2 separate regions of the Homo sapiens genome follow, and region 1 is linked to region 2. Evidence: promoter capture Hi-C in human tissues and cell types (Jung and others, 2019). All regions are on one chromosome and are shown on one strand. The core of a region is centred on a gene start or on the middle of the fragment in contact, and the rest is flanking DNA. Distances in the headings are between cores, read along the strand shown.

What was found. Contacts are between HindIII fragments. The study calls those that stand out against the background at their distance.
Region 1: a fragment that was not itself captured here is called in contact with the fragment with the promoter of ENTPD6 in region 2 in 1 of the 25 tissues and cell types used here (spleen).

The regions. Positions count from the first base shown.
Region 1 is chr20:24,000,998-24,006,503 of GRCh38, reverse strand. No RefSeq gene overlaps it. Among named protein-coding and RNA genes, the nearest start is that of GGTLC1, 15 kb to the right of the region's middle. The HindIII fragment of the contact is 3,965 bases long and covers 1,664-5,506 here.
Region 2 is chr20:25,191,498-25,196,962 of GRCh38, reverse strand. ENTPD6 (ectonucleoside triphosphate diphosphohydrolase 6) reads right to left here and starts at 1,251. Exons shown (of 15, transcript NM_001247.5): 1 at 1,096-1,251. It overlaps LOC101926889 (a long non-coding RNA gene), which reads left to right and starts at 71. Exons shown (of 6, transcript NR_109994.1): 1 at 71-340. RefSeq lists enhancers at 106-255, 636-705, 1,556-1,795 and a silencer at 996-1,415. The HindIII fragment of the contact is 8,888 bases long and covers 1-5,465 here.

The DNA.
Region 1 (5,506 bases), core at 2,397-4,896, 1.2 Mb after region 2:
ACAAAATGCTGGGCTGTGTGTGGATCTATAAGCAGATGCTGGAGGCACTGGTACAGACACAGCTGAGCCTGAGGGATCAGCAGCTCCCTGGTACCTCCCTGCCTTCATCAAGGAGAAATGTTTAATCACAACAGAGCAAGATATACATTCTTCCTGCTGAGGGTGGAAGGAACCTGAGGGCTGTAGTTTAAGGCTTGAAGAAGTGGCAGAGACGCAGATCACATCTCTGCTCTTGCTGGTCCCTCTCGCTGAGGAAAACCCAACCCTTCCAGTGCCCCAATTGCCATGCTTGCTGGCCCCCCTCACGAGGTGCATTCAGTGCAGTCCTGACTTCCGACCAGGATCAGGAAGGAATTCACCCACCTCCTCAGTGATTGCGCTCTTCAAGGTGAACAGCCCAGATCCTTCTAGGCTGCCCGACCTCCAGCCCCCAGGCTGGGAAGGAAGTCATCACTTCCCAGGAGAGTTTTGGAAGTCATCACTTCCCAGGAGAGTTTTGGCAGATTGGATTTTCCAAAGATGGCGCCATCAATATCTCTCATCCCCCACAATCTCCTTACACAGTGACAGGTCATCTGTGACACCAAGATATCAGGGCTGTGTCCCCCCCTCTGAATCAGAGTAGACCTCTTTGACTGCCTCAACACAGAGTAGAGCAAAGTGAAGCCCTGTGACTCCTGAGACCAGATCATGGAAATTCTAGGTTCTTCCTCTTTGTTCTCCTGGGACGTTACTCCTAGAACCAGACACCGTGCTGTAAGAAAGCCCAGGCAGACCTTGGAGAAGGCCCCGTGTGGAGAGAAACCAAAACCTGGGGCCCACCGCCCTTGCTGCCCTCCCCGACAACGACTGGAACCACACTTCAGCCCCAGAGTAAGACATCTCCGAAGCAGGTCCTCTACCCTCCAGGGGTCTGCCCCAGAGGGTGCCCCAGAGAGCAAGGCAAGCTCTCTCCACCAAGCCCTGCAATCTTCAAATTCATGAGCAGAATAAATAACCACAGTTGTGTCAAAAGACAAAATCACAACAAATTTAAAGATCTTAATTGGCTTTTATGTGTGATTCGTGAATCAGGGCAGCCTCCATCCTACAAAATAAAATGAAAGCTTGAAAGCTTCCACCAACCAGTAGCAGAACAGTGAGTTTTCTAAGGGGAAAACAAGGAAACAAAACCATAGAAAAATAACTGATCAATTAATAGCATTAGGTTACTTCTTTGTGAGAGTTAACGCAGGACAGACTTCCTTATTGTGCCAGCTAAAGCTGGCCTCTTTGGTTATATTTCTCTCTCCTGATTTCTCAGAAGGTCAAGTAGCTTAGTTTTGGTTTGGTGACATGGAACTTTAGCATGAGTGACTTCATTTTGCTTTGGTCTGCTGGGGCTGGTAAAGGGGTCTACTTCCAGGGGAGAGTATTTTTAAGGCTACGTAGCATCAGGGCCACAGGAGGCTCTTGTTGACAGAAATGACTGCAATATAACCAGGTCTGCTTGAGCCCTAAGTAGGCACAGCTGATGGATGTCCTCTACCTTTCTTATGTGTCAGCCTCTTAGAACATCCCTGTGGGGTTAGATGTTTCTGTAAGCCACCCAAAGGATAACTGACAAGCTTATCTGTCCCGAGGGGAGGGATGAATAGACGGTAGTATGACATTGTGATTTATGATAAGAAATATATATTTGGTTTTTGTCCTGCTCCCTGGCACACAGCTCCTAAAAAGCTTGGAGTCTCCAAAGTGACAAGTGTCTGTTTCTATGCGAATGTGGTGATTGACCCCGGACCGCCTCAGGAGGGGGCCTGGTTGTCAAGGGGACGGATGGCATACTTAGAGGGCCAAAGGGCCTGCTCAGGCGAGGCGGTATTCCTCGGGATTCTTTTCTGCAGTGGATAAGGAGATAACAGGGAGGAGAAGGAAAGCAACTGTTCTCCTTGGGGGTCGGTCTTTATGCAGATAAGGGAAAACTCTCTTGGCCTCTGTTGATCTCTAAGGATTTTCAATTCAAAATACTCACTATACTAGGGAGCCATATTTTTGGGTGAAGTTCCCTGGGTTCCTTCAGTGCTATAGGTGAGGAAATGTAATTTCTTTTCTTTCCCTTATAGATTCTTAGTTTAGACTTGCTTGAAAACAAAAGTCAGATTAACAAGAGAAAACCCAGCAGGAGTTTATTAACACTTGCTGTACCCATCACCTGGGAAAGGCTTCAGTTCAAAATTATTTCTCTCTCAAGGCAGTGGCTTAGGGGCCAATACTTAAAAAGTATTGGCCGGGTGCAGTGGCTCACGCCTGTAATCCCAGCATTTTGGGAGGCCGAGGCGGACAGATCACTTGAGGTCAGGAGTTCAAGACCAGCCTAGCCAACATAGTGAAACCCTGTCTCTACTAAAAACAGAAAAATTAGCCAGGCGTGGTGGCAGGCATCTGTAATCCCAGCTACTCAGGAGGCTGAGGCAGGAGAACCGCTTGAACCTGGGAGGCAGAGGTTGCAGTGAGCCGGGATTGTGCCACTACACTCCAGCCTTGGCAACAGAGACTCCACTTAAAAAAAAATTATTTTAACAAAGAGCCATAAATCCTATTTAGTGACAAGACAAAGAAAAGAGCATCTTCAGGCTTAAAAAAAGTGAGATACATGGGAAAGTAATTGTGGGAAGAGTAAAGCCAGCTCCTAGATTCTCTGGCGTGGCTGTCTCTGAGCTTATAAGCAAGTGTTGGAAAGGGGCCTGTCTTTAGGTGGGAATGACAGAGAGGAAGGAAGAATACCTTGGTTTTGTAAATTGCTGTCCTGCTACCTGGCAAGCAGAGGCAGGGCGGAGTCTCCCTGCATCTGAATCTTCTTAAGCTCCATAATCCTCAGTAGGTAGGGGAGAATATTTTGGTTTCTTTCAGTGCATTAAGCTAATATATGTCACCTGAAATCTGCACCCTGACAGAGCAAAAGGCTTGGCATCCCACGGGACAGTAGCATATCCTCTTAGGGGCCACACTTTTGTAATATGAGTATGTCCAAAGCGAAGTTACAGACTGTTTTTCTCACACTTGCTTCCACTGTGAGACCCACCGGGATAATCATTCTGGCCTCTCATCACATACACTTAATTTTCGAGTGTGACTTTTCTTCTACTGGTTCTTTTTTGTTTACCATTTTGAAGGTCTGTTATTCACATATTGGGTATCCTGGATTTGTTCTTCAGGTCTCTTTATATTGCCTTGTGGCTTTTGTGTCTCTGTGTGTGTGCATGTGTGTGCGTGTGTGTGCACGTGTGAGTGTGCGTGGGTGTGCGTCTGTGTGCATACGTGTGCGTGTATGTGTGTGTGCGTGTGTGCATATGTGTTTGCACATGCGTGTGTGGGTGTGTGTACGTGTGCATGTGTATGTATGTGTGAGTGTGCTTGTGTGCATGTGTATGCATGTGTGTGTGCATGTGTGTACATGTGTGTGTGCGTGTGTGCATGTGTGTGAATGTGTGTGTGCGTGGATGTGTGTCAGTGTGCATGTGTGTGTGCATGTGTGTGTGAGTGTGCGTGTGTGCATGTGTGTGAGTGTGCATGTGTGTGCGTGTGTTCACAGGATTGCAGAATGTCTACCTGGTCCCCCACATCTGTATATCAGTTATCCGCTGTGACCATCTCTCACTTCATCTGTTAAACATTTTCATTTAATTGAAAAATCCATTCTTCTGTCTATAGATCCTGAGAGTATTTTGTGTTCTAGCTACGTCTCCTAGGGCTTGTCATTTGTGGTTTTTGTTAAGTTCTCATGTAGCTCTCTCACCAGTTCAGGGGGAGCTGAGTGTTACATTACTTGCTTTGGACTTCCTTGCTCTGCACGTACTCAAGGGCTCCGGAGGAGCTGAAACTTTTCTTTGCCTGCTCCTCCTGGTGTGTCCTCTCCTCATCCAGACCCATCAGGCTTTTAGGGCGTCTGGGGCAGGATGACTTCAACAGCAAGGGAAGATGTATGACTCCTGCTCCCTGAGGATGTGCAGGGAGTGGGCTGGCAAATCATCACCTTCATTTTGGAACATGGAAAGGACGTTTTTCTGCTTCAAAATGCCAAACACAGTCTTCACCCAACCAGAGAAGCTGCACACAATCCAACCCAACATCAATTTTCTCTTTCTCCAGGGTCATCAAGACCAGAAAGCTCGAACTGCACCTGCACACTGCAGCTCTTTCCTGGAGAGACTCATAGACTTCGGCTGGTCAAGCCACACTGGGGTATAAATAACCTTCACAGCCCCCAGAATAGCTGTGTCTTTCAATTACATGCATGACTCCCCAAGAACCATGCCCTCAGGTGTTCATACCCTCAGGTGGTTCGCCCTGCTCAAGTCTGGGATGATCTTGTAAAAGCTTTACCCAATTAAATACGGAGGAAGTGATGCTGTACCCGTTCTAGGCTTAAGCTTAAAAAAGAGCCAGCAGCTTCCGCTTTTCTGCTTTGGGAAACCCCAAGGCTCAGGTACCATGATGGACAGACCCCTTGGAGAGAGCAAGACTGTGCAACTAGTGGAGAGAAAGACAGAGGCTGTTGCAGCATCCCAGCTGAGCCCAGCCCAGATGACCTGTCAGCTTGACCAGTGTGAGATCAGGAGAACTGCCCAGCTGACCCAGCCCAGACTGCAGAATCATAAGCAAATCAAATGGCCATTGCTTGAAGTCACTAAGTGGGTGTGCTTTGCTACACAGCAATATATAAGCCTTAAGTTCTCCCGCAGCCCCACAGGCTCTCCTGTCTGTCAAGGACAAAGCCTCACACTTACTCTCTCTCTCCAAGAAATCCCATAGGACATGGAAGTCAAGAATCAGCTTCAAATCAGTCTTTCCAGAAGTTTTCATCATTTACTAGGATACAGATTATGGAATTTATTCTCTGTTAATATCATCATTTCTCACATTGGGTTATTTTTTGGTTGTTATTTTTATCTTTCCTTGAGATTTGCCAACAGCTTCACCACAGAACTAGATTATGAAAATCTAATGAATTAATTTATTATTCATTATTATTTTCTTTTTTTGCTTCCCAAGAATTACTTTTTTATTTTAAACTTATTTTGTTATATAACTTGTTCATTATTTATTTTGTCTGTAAATTTGTACTTTTTGCATGTTTAATTCAATTTTAAGATATATAGTATTCTAATAACTTAAAATTGAAATTTCATTTCTCCTTTGATCCAATAATTTTATACAAGTATTTTTAGATATCTGGTTAATTTTTGCAGAATTTTTCATATTCATTTCTTGTTTTACTGTAGCTTTATGGGAGTATGACAAGTGTTTCCCATTTAAAAATTTGTAGAAATTCTGATGATTTTTGTAAATGTTTTATAAACATTTTTAAAAGTGTGTTTCCAACACAAAAAGGTAATAATTACTTCAATCCGACTTTAATTCTCTACGACGTTTTTTGTCACATGTTTGCTGGGCTTATCAAGGGCTCAGAGAGCTACATTCCTAAATCCTGTAAAGATCATCTCTCAATTTCTCATTTTATTTGGAT
Region 2 (5,465 bases), core at 2-2,501:
GAGGGGAGGCGCTTCCAGATCTCCTGACACAAAGGGCTGCCCACCTCCCTGGTCCTTTACCCGAACCTTCAGGAGGCAGACGACACACACACTAGCCAGCCACTCTCTCCAAGGCAAGGGGAGGGGGACAAAAAGCAATTTTGAGATTTGTACAGTGCTTGCCAGGTCCTTCAAAAATGACTACCGGCCGCCCATGGCTCTTGCACAGCGGGTGGGAGGAAGAGTCCTTGTAATCCACCTCTCCCAAGGAACTCCTGCGCGAGGTTTCAGATTCCCCGCCTGCAGGCTATGGCTGACTTCCCCGTATCCTGTGTGACGTGGGATGTGTGGCTTCGCGCAGGTAAGGCTGGAATACAGGTGCCTGGAGGGACACCCAGAGCTGCCCAGGCACTTCCCGGCGGCTGCTTCCTTTGCACTTTGCACTTACAGGTGCACTTATAATAAAAACACCCTCCCTTCCACGCTCCCCTGGGCCCTCCCATCTCTCCTTCCTCTTCCACGCTCTCCTGGCTGTTGAATGTTTTCCACTGAAGGAGTCTAGTCTGTCCACCTAGGGGGCTCTCCCTCCCTCGGTCCAGGGCATTCGCGGCTCACAGGTCAGCTCGGGCAGAACCGCCCTGACCACCTATGAGCTCCTCGGGACACCACCCCAATGCCAGGGTGAATCGTCCTTACACCCTCAGTCCTGTCCGAGCGGCCTGATCCTACCTGTTTCCCAGAAACTGCTACGCGAAGCTTCCCCGCCGGGCTCATCCAGGGCGGAGGGGTCTGTCCCTGACGCAGACTGGGGGCGGGTCCGCAAAAGCGGGCTGAATGAATGAACGCAGCAGGGCTGGGGCCCCCTGGGGCTACAGGCCCCTGCTATTTGGCCCGCCCTGTGGCCCAAAACACTGGACTTGCCCCCCACCGGTCAGCGGAGCCCAGACATCCAGGGAGCCCTAATGGAGCCTGGACAGGAAGGCAGCAGGAGGTGGGACCCGGGGTGCGAGTGACCCCGAGGCCGTCCTCCGGAGCGCAGCGCGCCCGCGTGGGGGAGGCCCGCCTACAGTCGGTGATCCCCGGCCGCCCCCGCCAGCGCCCCGGCCCGCCGCTTACCATGCACCGCGCGCTCCGCCACACCCACGGAGACGAGTGCCCTTTTCCGGGGAGCAGGCGGCAGCCGGTCTTTTGGGCTCCCCCGCCCCGGCCGGCGCCACCCCGGCCTCCACCCGCGGGATACGACCCCACGATTCCCTAGGGCCTGGGCTCCGCCCCATGCACGTGGCGTCACAGGCTGGGCGGGGGGGCGCACCCAGCCGCGCATGCGCAGGCGGGAGAGGAGGTGGGGGTCGGGGGACCCAGTTGCGCAGGCGCGGGCGGAGTATGGGTGCTCAGCTGCGTAGGCGCGATGGCCTTCTTTTCTTTCTGCAGGTGGCCTTGCGGTTTTCTCCAGTCCACAGCCGGGCTGGCGTCGGCCCAGAGAGGGGGGCTCGGCAGTCTGGTTCCCCGAGCGTCTCATGGCGGGCCCTCGCCAGATTCAAGGGGTTCCCTTGGCCAGTTTCCTTACGGCGCGGCGGAGCTGGCCCTCGTCGTCCCTGGTAGGGGGCAGCCTCACAGCCTGGACCGGCCTGTGCAATTTCCCCCATCCCTCCACGTCTACATTTTATTTTTTTCTTTTTCTTTTTTTAGGACAATGCATGATGGAAATGCAGCCACATCATAGCAGGCAGGTTCATGAAATCTGCCCTCCTCCCACCGTTTCTTGACCCCATTTTCTTATTTTTTTTTTTAACAGGTTCTCACCCAGGCTGGAGTGCAGTGATGTGGTCTCAGCTCACTGCAACCTCTGCCTCCCGGGTTCAAGCGATTCTGTTGCCTCAGCTTCCTGAGTAGCTGGGATTACAGGTGTGCGCCACCACGCCTGGCTAATTTTTGTACCTTTAGTAGTGACGAGGTTTCGCCCTGTTGGTCAGGCTGGTCTCGAACTCCTGACCTAAGGTGATCCGCCTGCCTCGGCCTCCCAAAGTGCTGGGTCTATAGGCATAAGCCACCACACCCGGCCCTTGACCCCATTTTCTGTCTTCCTAGAAATCACCAAGGTTGCAACTCCTGACTGTCCTGGCTCACAGGCTCCAGCTTACTTAAGGACCCCACGGTGGGGGCTGCCCACTTGCACACCTATGCTAGGCGCCCTCATTCCCGCAAGGGCCAGAGCCCCTTCCCGGCCCATGGCGTCTGGCCAAGGAGGTGTGGGTGCGCCCCAGCCAGGCCTGGTCCTAGAGGACGGCCCCACCTGCGCACTGGGGCATCTGGGAGAGCTATTAGTGGAAGAAGCCCAGGTTCCTGAAGCACCAAGTGGGCAAGAGTTTATTTTCAGGATGGGACGCTTTTGAGGGTGAATAAGTGCTAGCTGTATGGGATGCGGGGACAGTACACAGGCCCGGCCTGGCAGCCGGGCAATGCGGTGCCTGTTGGAAGGTCGCCCACAAGCACCTGGTTGGACACTGCCACTGAGATTTGGTTATTACAGAGGTTAGCCTATGCGGGCCTTCACTGATGGACCTTGAAGTGTTTCCCAGTTGCTTTGGGTTAGGAATAATGTGACTGGATCCCGTGGATTGTCTTTGTGCATGCATGTGGGTATATCTGTCAGAAATATTCTTAGAGGTGGAATTGGCTATGGTGGGATATGTCCTTTAAAATAATATATTAGCCAAACGTGGCTAAATTGCCCCCCTTAGACACTGTACTAATTTACACTCTGGCAAATAATGTGTAAGACTGTGGGTTTCCACACATCTTCACCAGTGGGGTCTTTCCAAACTTTTGGATCTTTCCCAATCCAATAATGACAAAACTATATCTCATGGTTTTAATTTACACTTCCTAGTATTTTGAGATCCTGTCGTGAAGTGGTGATGGCCCTGTTTCTGCCTGCTGCACTTGGCAACATGTGTTATCACTTCCTTTCTTTTCACCACTTTTTACTCTTAGAGTTTCTAGAATTTGTGAAAGTAAAATCTTTTTGCTGGCATGGGCTTTTGTGTGTATTATACACTGCTTGGAAAGGTCTTGCACCACATCTTCCCTTCGTAGATTGTTTCTCAATGTTTAATACTCAGCTCAAATGTCACCTCCTCAGACCATTTTATCTAGAATGGCCTCCTCTAGTTATTCTCTGTCACCTTTTATGTTATTTCCTTCATAGCACTCATCACACTGTAACCACCCAACAGCTTCTTCTTGCCTGTCGCCCAGATAGAGCCAATTTTTCAAGATGGGAATTGCAATAAAGAGTTCGATACACATAGAGCTGGCTAACCAGGAGAGCAGAGGCTTATTACTCCTCAAATCAGCCTCTCCTCAAATTCGGAGTCTAAGGAATTTTTTGGGGGGGGTTTGTTTTTGAGACAGTGTCTTGCTTTGTTGTCCAGGCTGGAGTGCAGTGGTGCAGTCTAGGCTTACTGCAACCTCCACCTCCTGTTCAAGCGATTCTCATGCCTCAGCCTTACAAGTAGCTGGGATTACAAGCGCACACCACCATGCCCAGCTAATTATTTGTATTTTTAGTAGAGACGGGGTTTCACCGTGTTGGCCAGGCTGGTCTCGAACTCCTGCTCTCAAGTGATTTGCCCTCCTTGGCCTCCCAAAGTGCTGGGATTGTGCCAGTCTGGAGGCTAGGGTTTTTAAAAGATAGTTTAGCAGTCAGGGGGCTAGGGAATGGTGAGTGCTGATTGGTTGGGTTAGGGATGAAATCCTGAAGAGATGAAGCTTTCGTCTTGCTCTGGGTTAGTTCCTGGGTTGGGGTCACAAGACGAGATAGCCAGTTTACCAGTCTGGGTGGCTAGTCCATCACAATGTGGGGTCTGAAAAATACCTTGAACACCAATCTTATGTTATATAATAGTAATATTATCTATTGGAGCAATTATGGAGGTTAGGAATCTTGTGGCTTCGGGCTGCATGACTCCTAAGCCATAATTTTTTTTTTTTTTTTTTTTTGAGATGAAGTCTTGCTCTTGTCCCCCAGGCTGGAGTGCAATGGTGTGATCTCGGCTCGCTGCAACCTCTGCCTCCCGGGTTCAAGCAATTATCCTGCCTCAGCCTCCTGAGTAGCTGGGATTACAGGCACCTGCCACCACGCCCGGCTAATTTTTATATTTTTAGTAGAGACAGGGTTTCACCATGTTGGCCAGGCTGGTCTTGAACTACTGACCTCAGGTGATCTGCCCACCCTGGCCTCCCAAAGTGCTGGGATTACAGGTGTGAGCCATCGCGCCCGGCCCATAAATTTTAATCTTGTGGCTAATTTGTTAGTTTCACAAAGGTGGTCTGGTCCCCAAGCAAGAAGGAGGTTTGTTTCAGGGGGGGGCTGTTATATTTGGTTTAAAGTGAAATTATAAACTAAGTTTCTCCACAGATTTGTTTGGCCTATGCCCAGGAATGTGCAAAGGCAGATTGGAGGTTAGAAGATGGAGTCGGTTAGGCCAGCTTTCTTTCACTGTTGTAATTTTCCTATGTCATATTTTTCTTATTGTCATAATTTTTGCAAAGACACAACACCCGTCATTACTTGTTTGCTGACTTGTTTATTGGTAAATTCTTTGTTCCACTACTGAAATGAAGCTCCATGAGAACAAATAAGTTGGTCTGTCCTGCTCACTGCTGCATGTCTGGCACTCTGTCTAGAACATGGTAGGTGCCTGTAGCATACATTATTGGTGCTAATGTCCCTTGCCTGCCTCTGCCGTCAGCTCTCTGATTGTTGTGGAGAGTTCCCCTGAATGCTGCCACCTCAAGCATCTCGTTGCTGTCCTCTTTAGGGCTTATCTTACGACTTTCTCCGGAAGCCTTGGGAGCAGGCGCAGCCTGGAATTCAGGGAAATTTAACATCCCCGGGGCAACTGCAGGGCAGTTTGGGTGGCCTTGGACAGACCCAGTCCCCTTTTTACCATGTAGTTCTCAGGAATAACTGCAGAATGTGCTAGGATTGCAGCATCTTGAGATAAGGGAGAACTGGCTGAACAGCCCAAGGTCAGTTCCAGTCTCCTGCTGAAAATAGGATGTCCTTCAACACTGCCCAGCAAATCACATTACCCTGGGATGTTAAACCCAGGGCAGGCTGCTCTCTGGCATTCCTCGTCTGTGGTGCAAGTGGGGCATGCCCAGTTGAGACTCCATTTGCCCTGAGCAGATTTCCTGAGCCTCAGGCAACCAGCTTGCAATGAATGCTCCTCTTGTCCCTTGCTGCCTGTCTGTAAGTAATAAATTTGCTTCATATAACTTATTGAGTATGAATGCGTTCTCTCTCACTGGACACAGACATGTTGGTAACCAATGCACAGTGAACCTCCTTCACAGCAACCCTTAATTAACTGGGGATATATACCTCAGCCTTCTGTCCCCAGAGGACCAATTCTGAGTCCTCAGTAGAAGTGAGCCTCAGTGACCCTTAGTGGTGATCAGCTCAGTAATGCCCCCTTGGG